Linked DNA regions of Homo sapiens: region 2 is linked to region 1. Evidence: promoter capture Hi-C in human tissues and cell types (Jung and others, 2019). All regions are on one chromosome and are shown on one strand. The core of a region is centred on a gene start or on the middle of the fragment in contact, and the rest is flanking DNA. Distances in the headings are between cores, read along the strand shown. Region 1 holds the start of POLR2C (RNA polymerase II subunit C). Region 2 overlaps RSPRY1 (ring finger and SPRY domain containing 1).

What was found. The method cuts DNA at HindIII sites, captures the fragments that hold promoters and counts their contacts. A contact is called where the count stands out against the background at its distance.
Region 2: a fragment that was not itself captured here is called in contact with the fragment with the promoter of POLR2C in region 1 in 1 of the 25 tissues and cell types used here (dorsolateral prefrontal cortex).

The regions. Positions count from the first base shown.
Region 1 is chr16:57,461,406-57,465,873 of GRCh38, forward strand. It overlaps POLR2C (RNA polymerase II subunit C), which reads left to right and starts at 1,274. Exons shown (of 9, transcript NM_032940.3): 1 at 1,274-1,405; 2 at 1,624-1,673. The coding sequence starts at 1,320. RefSeq lists an enhancer at 1,132-1,426. The HindIII fragment of the contact is 18,274 bases long and covers 1-4,468 here.
Region 2 is chr16:57,187,683-57,192,613 of GRCh38, forward strand. All of the region lies in intron 1 of RSPRY1 (ring finger and SPRY domain containing 1), which reads left to right. Among named protein-coding and RNA genes, the nearest start is that of RSPRY1, 3.8 kb to the left of the region's middle. The HindIII fragment of the contact is 4,068 bases long and covers 1,465-4,931 here.

The DNA.
Region 1 (4,468 bases), core at 24-2,523:
ACCTCTGCGTCTCTGGGCTCAAGTCTTCCCATCAGTAAAATACGGGTAACAGAAGCCTTCCCACAGACCATCAGCTCCCTTGGCTGCTCTTGTCTGACGATTTTAGTGGTACATTCTTTAGCCCCAGTAATTTTCTCAGCCTCTACACTGGCTGGGTTCCCTTTGCACGTCTGGTTAGCTCTGTTTTCTGCTTTGCTCTCTTCTGCCTGTCAGCTGAATATTAATGGGGGAAAGTCAGCAACTAATTGAATTTCAGATCTCTTGTGGGTCTTCCACTGGATCTTTTTTGCACCTCTCAATTCCTTGTATCTCTTGACATCCTGTGAAGTTTTCGCAGTAGCTGTTCCAGTTTTCATTGCATTCTCCTTTTTCCTTCATAGCATCCATCTTACACTCAGCAGACAACCATAATTCTTAATTTACCAAGATGACACAGGTTATGGAGCAGGGTTCCATCAGTGCCCACCCTCTGTTTCAGGAAGAGGTGTCACTCTTTGCAAAGGCAAACTCCTCTTTATCTGGTTACTCTTCTCCCAACTCTTAAATGTATTTCCTGCCACGTTCTATTTTAGAGCTTTTCTCTGTTGGAGCAGCAGCCACTTTTTTTGAGGCCCATTTAAACCTCTCTCCAGTCTGTTTAGGGGACTTCAGTAGTTCTTTGTTGAGCATGCACCCCACATGGTGCCCACTGCCAGGCACTGGGGATGCAGAGACAAAGAGTTCCCACTCACCCACCACAGCTACACAGACTGTAGAGGAAGCATTAGGTTAAAGAACATTGTATCTTTTCCTGAAGTTTTCAGAAGTGCATGGTCCATACTTGAGACTGCAAGGGAAAGGGTATTTACTTATAATTCAGGTATACTTTGCTAAAATATACATTCATATTAAAATATACTTTTGTTTTTCTATAGATGTACAAGTTCTTTTTAAGTGCTTCATAGTATTCCATGTGTGTATACTCCACCAGGTCTCTTATCAATGGACAGTACAAACAGTACTACCACGAACGTCCCTGCACTCGTATCTTTGTTTACAACTGCAAGTGTTTCTGCAGTATGAATTCTTAGAAGTGTTACTGTTAAGTGAAGGACGTATGCGTGTTTTGCCAAACTACCCTCCGAGATAGCTGAATCTGGTACATTTTAAAGCAGGAGGCCGCAGAAGACGCTCGGCAGTTCTGGCCTCCGAGCAGCAGGCGGCGCTGTGAGTCGTCTTTGCGGAAGCCGCGGAGGCCTCGCTGACTGACTTCCGGTGTTGGCGGTGGCGCCGCGCAGTCACCGCGGAGCAGACGCGGAGGCTGGTGGCCCCTGGGCGAGATGCCGTACGCCAACCAGCCTACCGTGCGGATCACGGAGCTCACTGACGAGAATGTCAAGTTCATCATCGAGAACACCGACCTGGCGTAAGGCTACCGAGGGAAGAGGCTGGCGGCTCTGGGGCGCCGGGAGGCCCAAGCCGGGGCCCCGGGGCAGGGGGCGGGGGTGTAGTGGGGTGGGGTGGGGGCGATGTCCTTCCAGAGCTGCCCCCCTGCACCAGGGCTTTAGCTTTGGGAGCCTGCGGCGCGGGCCCAGCCTGTCGAGGCTGCAGCGCCTTCACGCCCCTTGGCTTTTGATCTTTCAGGGTGGCCAATTCGATTCGGAGGGTCTTCATCGCTGAGGTTCCCATAATAGGTAAGCGACTCCCCTTCCTCGTTCCCGCGCCCACGGGTTCCTGCCCCGCTCTCCACCCACACACTCTTTGGGGCTCCTTCCAGTCCTTGGTTCGGGCTGAGGGTGGTAGTGCTGAGAAAAGTGCATTGCTGGAGACTTGACCATACCCTGTGCCCTTGGCTCAGTGGCCGCCTCCCTGGCGCCCACGGGCCACTTAGGTCCACCCTTGTCCTGGGTATGCATTGCTGAGAAGCATGGGTTTAGCAGTGTGCAGACTTGGGTTCAAATACTGTTTTCACTACTATTGTTACAAAAGTTTTTAAAATGTTTTCAACTTTTATTTTGGAGTCAAGGGGTACATTGGTGCAGGTTTGTTGCCTGGGTATAGTGCGTGATGCTGAGATTTGGGGTATAAATGATCCTTTCACCCAGGTAGTGAGCATAGTACGCAATAGGTAGTTTTTCACCCCTAGCCCCACTGCCTCCCTTCCAGCTCTAGTAGTCACCAGTGTGTTTATTGTCATCTTTATGTCCGTGCGTACCCAGTTTTAGCTCCCATGCGGTGTTTGGTTTTCTGTTCCTGTGTTAATTCTCTTAGGATAATGGCTTCCAGGCCGCGCTCGCGCCTGTAATTCCAGCACTTTGGGAGGCCAAGACTGAGGAACACCTGAGGCCAGGAGTTTGAGACCAGCCTGGCCAACATGGGGAAAGCCCGCCTCTACTAAAAATGCAAAAATTAGCCAGGTGTGGTGGCTCCCACCTGTAATCCCAGCTACTGGGGAGGCTGAGGCAGAATTGATTGAACCCAGAAGGTGGAGGTTGCAGTGAGCCGAGATCATGCCACTGCACTCTGGCCTGGGCAATAGAGTGAGACTCCTTCTCAAACAAAAGAAAATAAAAAAGAAGATAGTGGCTTCCAGCCACGTCCATGTTGCTGCAGAGGACATGATTTCGTTCGTTCTTATGGCTGCATCACTTACTGCTTTTGTGAAACTTGGGCAAGTTATTAAACTTCTGTGTGCTGCAGTTTCCTCATCTGTAACATTCGGCCACTAATGATCCTTATCAGGGTAATGTTAAGGATTAAGTGAGGTAATCCATATAAGTGCTTTGTGTTTAGTGAGTGCTCAGTGCTGGTAGATGGCTTTTTTATTAATCTATTCCTTCAACAGCATTTATGGAGCATGAAAGTGGCAGGCATGGTGGTAAGCTCTGGGAATGCAAAGCTGTAGAGAACAGGGTTTTTGCCCTCATGGAGTCCACAGTGAGGTTGTAGGGGAGAGATGAATCCACAGACAACACTAAAGCAAGGTAGATTTTGATCAGTAGTTCAGGAGAAGCATAGCTGTGGTGCACTTGGCTCTTAGAGGAGGGAAGATCAATTTCTGGTCTGGTTCCAGCCACTCTGCTCCAGGTGCTTAATGCATTGATTATACTTGTATGAAATACTTCAAGCATTTCTGAGAGTCAGCTCAGAGAGTTTGGATTAGGCAAAATAAATATAAGTCATAGCTGTGGCATCAAATATTCAGACTTTTAAGGAAATAAGCAGGCCAAATGATTAGGCAAGAGAACATTGTAGTTTATCCACTACCACCACCACCCCACCCCCCCGCCCCCCAGTCACTTCTTAAATTCAGCTTGGAGTGCTGGACCTCCCCCTGCCTAAGCACTTCATGCCTCTGGACCTCAGTTTCATCAGGAGTCAGGTGAGGGAGTTGTACTTCATGATGCAGCCCTGCCATTCTGAGTCTAAATGCCTCTTTCCCAACAAATTCAGTTCTACAAATAATATTGAGCACCCATGCTAGGAATACAAAGACATCCCAGGACCTGCGTGAAGGAATTTCTGAAGCTTGAGGTATAGACATAACATACACAAATATGACACAAGGCACACTATGACAAGTGTCTTGAGGGAAGTCTGAACAGAGTTTTGTGAGAGAGGAGTTGAAAGGGAGGGAATGTCACATCTGTAGCATAGAGAGCAGGCAAGGCTTAGTTTTCAGGAGGCACAGAGGATCTTAACCTGTACAGCAAGGAGGGGAAGGGTGTGCTGGAGGGAAGGGCTGGGGGATTAAAGAGGCAGAAAAGCTTGGGTCAGGGTTCTCTCAGTTGGCTTGGACTGGGGAAGCAATGGGAAGCATAGCAGGACAGAGCAGGTGGAGGCCTGGCAGGGGGAGGTCCTCTTCCGACCGCTGTTCCTAGTGTCTGTGTCCCTCGTTTGGCAGTTGGGCTCCAGTGCCATTTGATTCCTGGATTTAGTTGGTTCCATGCAAATGTTTATGAATGAATAAATGTGTGTTTAAGTCAAGCATGTGTGATCGATAATACAGTCTTTACCCTCCTACGAGCTCATTGCTGCTAGGGATTGGGTTCTATATTTAGTATACTTTGCGCATTAAAAGAATTCAGTAAACATTTGTTGATTGAGTGTTTAAAAAGTGCTAAGTTGGGCAGTCCAGTCATTATATCCTAAAATGAGGTATGGCCCCATAAGTCTGTGTTGCTTCTGTGAGGGTTTCCCTGACTTTGAAGTGCTCAAATAGTTCATGTTCTTGGATTTAGTGGTGGCACAGGTAGCAGATTTAAGTGCTTCTCATGCAAATACTCAGCTCAAATAAACATGTTTCCACTTCTATGATATTCTATAAGTCAGTGTTTTCTGTGAAGCAGGGAGCCCCCTGCATTAAATTCACCTGGGCAGGGAGGTGAGGTGTGGTGTGTGTGGGTCTTATTAAAATGCAAGTACCTGGGCCCCACTCTAATGCTGTGGAATCAGCCCAGCAATCTGCAGTTTAGTGTCAGGTGATTCC
Region 2 (4,931 bases), core at 2,249-4,748, 270 kb before region 1:
GGGTGGGATTAATACAGTCGTTGTCTGTCACCTGCGGAGTGCTGGGAGCCATATTGTACTGAAAGCTTCAAGGTTCACAGCTTCTTAGGTCATATTAAGATCTAAACCCATGGTTTCAAACCCTGCTTAGATGGGGATGGTGGGATTTCCAGCTTTTGCTCTCAGAGTTTTCATTTACTTTGAACTTCTTATGGTGCTGGCAGGAGTTACCACTGTAATATCTTTTCCTTCAGGAATTATTTTCCCCTAACAGCTGAAATTTTCCTCTAAGTAATTTGATCTCAACATTGTAAACCTCCTCCCCCTTTTGCATATATATATGCATGGCTTTTGGATGTCTACAGGCAGTGAATATCATACTTTCTCCCTCAGTTGTGATTTGTAAAGACTGCCTTTTTTCCTCCACGAATACTATGCGTTGTTGTGGTAGCCCTAGACTATAGATTATGAGGCATGTTGGAAGTTGCTTTTAAATTTCTCTTGCACAGTGGTTCTCTTTATTTTTCCCCTTATGTGGACTTTGCATTTCCTGGGATGGTATCTTGCTTTGTAGATCCCTCTATGAGATTGTAAGAGACTTGTGTCCCTGTATGACATTTTACTAGTGTTTGGTTCGTCGTACTTGTTAGAGATGGTTTTCCAAATATCGGGCAATCATTTCCTGGGATGGTATCTTGCTTTGTAGATCCCTCTATGAGATTGTAAGAGACTTGTGTCCCTGTATGACATTTTACTAGTGTTTGGTTCGTCGTACTTGTTAGAGATGGTTTTCCAAATATCGGGCAATTTATATGGGATTTTTTCCGAAGTAATTTAGTTGTGTTTTTGGTTTTTTTGTTTGTTTGTTTTTTGAGACGGAGTTTCGTTCTTGTTGCCCAGGCTGGAGTGCAGTGGCGCTATCTCGGCTCACTGCAACCTCCGCCTCCTGGGTTCAAGCGATTCTCCTGCCTCAGCCTCCGGAGTAGCTGGGATTACAGGCATGTACCACCACGCCCAGCTAATTTTGTATTTTTAGTAGAGACGAGGTTTCTCCGTGTTGGTCAGGCTGGTGTCGAACTCCCGACGTCCTGTAATCCGCCTGCCTCGGCCTCCCAAAGTGCCGGGATTACAGGCGTGAGCCACTGTGTCTGCCTTTCGAAGTAATTTTTGTACTGCTCTGAATTTTCTGTTTTTGTGATCCTATATTCTGTGGATCTTTTTAAAAACTATAACTGGTGATTGTGAGTTATTTGATCTCCCAGGATGCATGTTGCCCTAACCTACTATTTAATGTCTTTCTATGTTATGCTTTTTTCTGTACTCAGTGACTTTTTTTTTTTTTTTTTTTTGAGACCGAGATTCCCTCTTGTTCCTCAGGCTGGAGTGCAATGGCGCGATCTCAGCTCACTGCAACCTCTGCCTCCCGGGTTCAAGCAATTCTTCTGCCTCAGCCTCCCAAGTAACTGGGATTACAGGCAAGCACCACCCGTGCCTGGCTAATTTTTGTATTTTTAGTAGAGAGGGAGTTTCACCGTGTTGGTCAGGCTGGTCTTGAACTCCTGAGCTCAAAGTGATCTGCCCACCTTGGCCTCCCAAAGTGCTGGGATTACAGGCATGAGCTACTGTGCCTGGCCCTCAGTGATTATTTTCAAGTTATTGATTATAGGAGGTATACCAGCATACTCTATGTGGGCTTCTGCTTTTGTCAGCAAAATAACTTTTCATTTAGTAAGTATCAAAGGGAAATAAAAACTTAGCATTTTGTATAATAGTGTGTTAATCTGTAGTGAATCAGGTAAAAACAACAAATCTGAGTTATGTAGCACTGTGGGGCCTGGAGGCTAAAAAAAAAAAAAGTGTGTTTTGTCAAGAGTTTAACAAACAATTATTCTGTATTTCTTTTTTTCTGTTTTTTCTTTTTCTTTTCTTTTCTTTTTTTTTTTTTTTTGAGACAGGGTCTCATGCTGTCTCTCAGGCTAGAGTGCAGTGGTGCAATCACGGCTCACAGAAGCCTCTACCTCCCAGGCTCAGGTGATCCTCCCACATCAGCCTCCCAAGTAACTGGGACTACAGGTGCGAGCCACCACACCTGGCCAATTTTTGCACTTTTTTTAAGACAGGGTTACGCCATGTTGCCCAGGCTGGTCTCAAACTCCTGGGCACAAGCCATCCACCCACCTTGGCCTCCCAAGGTGCTAGGATTACAGGTGTGAGCCACCATGCCTGGCCTCGTGAGCTTAATTTAGTCTGTTGAGAATTGTATATGCTTTCCTTAACAATGAAGTAATTTGTTCTAATGAAGTGGGAAATCCCTTTGCATCTTTTTAAATACAGCTTTCTTTCACACTCTATATAGTTTGGAGAAAATGTTAGGAATTCTTGAAGGTAGTAATCACTATTACACTACTTAAGATTGGAAGTTATGGCTGGGCATGGTGGCTCACACCTATAATCACAACACTTTGGGCGGCCAAGGCGGGAGGATCACTTGAGCCCAGGAGTTCAAGACCAGCCTGGGCAACATGGCAAAACCCCATCTCTACAAAAAAATACAAAAATTAGCCCAGCGTGGTGGCACATGCAGATAGTCCCAGCTACTTGGGAGGCTGAGGTGGTAGAATCTCTTGAGCCTGGGAGGTTGAAGATGCAGTGAGCCACTGCATTCCAGCCTGGGTGACAGAGCAACACCCTGTCTCAAATAAATAAATAGGAAATGTTCTGTATTTTTTAGTAGGATACTTGTAAAGTGGGGTGTGATAGTCTCAGGATTGCAAAATAAGTGGAAAGTCAGTAGTCACCACAAATGGGAAACACAGTGGAACCAGCAATCTATTTCAAAAGAATTATTTGGGGATAATAAACTATGGATTTAGCTTCTCTTCAAGCTTTTGGCATTTTCAAGGCAGTTATCATTGAATTTGGGTAGTTTTTTCCCTGATATTCAAATTAGAAAATTGAAAAGCAGAATAATCACGAAGTAGTAAATGCCGTAACTTGGGCAACAGCCTTTTGGAGGGGACTTTTACAACTTTTAGAAGTGCAAAGGAGTGAATATTTCCCTTTGGTTTATCATTCAGTAAGTCAGCTTTTGAAATCCTTTTCTTGCCAACCTTTGTGAGTAGAGAAAACATACAAATGTGTCCATTCCAAAAGGGAGTGGTTGCTGGTTAAATATGTAAAAGTAGTAACTTTAGATAAATGTGTGGTATATACAAGGTTAAATCAGGAAAAGTTATCTTATAAATAGTGGTGGCCTCTTAGAGAACATTCCGCTTTGTTTCTGAGCTTTTGAAAACTGAGAATACATTTGAAATAGTAAGGAATTTATGTACTCCTTAAATTTGTTAAGGAATGAACTCTGCACATAGCTTTCTTGTTGCTTGAAATTATAGTTTCCAGGCGTAATTTCATAGGTCCTATGTACCTCAAATAGAAGGTTTGAAATACCTTACTCAGCAAGTATATTACCTCATAGTTTAATGTTCAGTGTTAGTTTTTTCTTACCCCTCTACCTCCTGAAGAATTGTTTTCGCTCTTGTGTTCCCTTAATGCAGTGATTCTCAAGATGTGGTTTCTGCCCAGTCCCTCCACATGGGAAATATAGCACTGTTTGTTTGTTTTTTTAAGTTTTTATTGCTTCATAGTTGTTCATACTTAGGTATGCCTAAGGGCTACTTATTAATAACCTACCAAGTGAATTACTAAGGATTACTAAAACATGGTATTCATAACCTAAAACTAGAACAATATTGGAGTTTACTGTGGTCTCTTAATACTTTTTTCGCCCAGGAAGTCTGTCCTGGGAAACCTGGCACCAATACAAGCTTCTCACATGTCATATGCAGAATGGGGATTCCTGCAGTATTCAGGAAGTATGCTTAGTTTGGGGTGCATCATCTGAATTGTCTCAAAATAATGTCAGTTTTCATCATGATTCCTCTTTTTTTATTAGAATTTTTATTTAACTTCATCTTTATCAATTTAATTTATAGGTTTTTTTGTTTACTTTTCATTGTGTGGGCAGGAATATTTATACCAACAATATTTTGGCTTATAATGTAAGACATAAATGTGTTACAATGCAAAGATAGATTCTCTAGTCCCCTTTTGCTATTGCTGATTTGTATAGTCACCTAAAAACTTGCTCACACAGAGGTACTTCAGTGTTACCAAAGTTCCTTTTACACTGGAAAACTGATGGAACAAGAGGCCTCCTTCTAGTAGATGCTTTATCTGTAGTCTTTGGGTAGGGAGCTAAGTTTGTCCCTAACCCCAGCTCCCTTTGTCAGGAGCATGAGGGACCTTTTTCCGTCTTTCCTCACTGCCTGCCATATAAGCATTGGATATATAGTTATTGAATGGTGTTGTCTCAGTTTTTCAAAATGGTAAATATTTTGGAGAGACTTTATGTTACAGATTTTAGAATAAATTCACCTAAGATATTTATTGAATACATATTAGGGTCTAATAAGTATCCAAATGAGTATGCAGTATGAGTGTTTTAGACATCATTTAAAGTAGACATCATTAAGGAAAATGTTGATATTCATGCTGCTTATATATTTTATTTGCTTTTCTTAAGAGCAGAGAGTTTTCTGTAATAGAAAAATCCTTTTCCTTCAGATTTGTGTATATTTGAATAACACATGATCTCCTATTATTTGGCCTCCTGGGGGGAAAACCACAAGTACTACGGAATATTACATTTGTTTTTCTTCCCTGTACTGCAACCGTCATAAGCATTTACCTCAATTCTTCCTTAGTATTTTTTGGGAGTCCAAGGCAAATTTTTCAATCCTTAAGATTTCAGGCAGGGATTATTTACTTCCCCTTTTTTACTATTATTTGCTTCCGGAAATTCCTTACTCTATCCTAGGCCTAAATTTTATTTTTTAGTAAATTATTTGAATGCTGAAAGGATTTGTCTTTTCTCCTTTGTACCATTTTAGGTC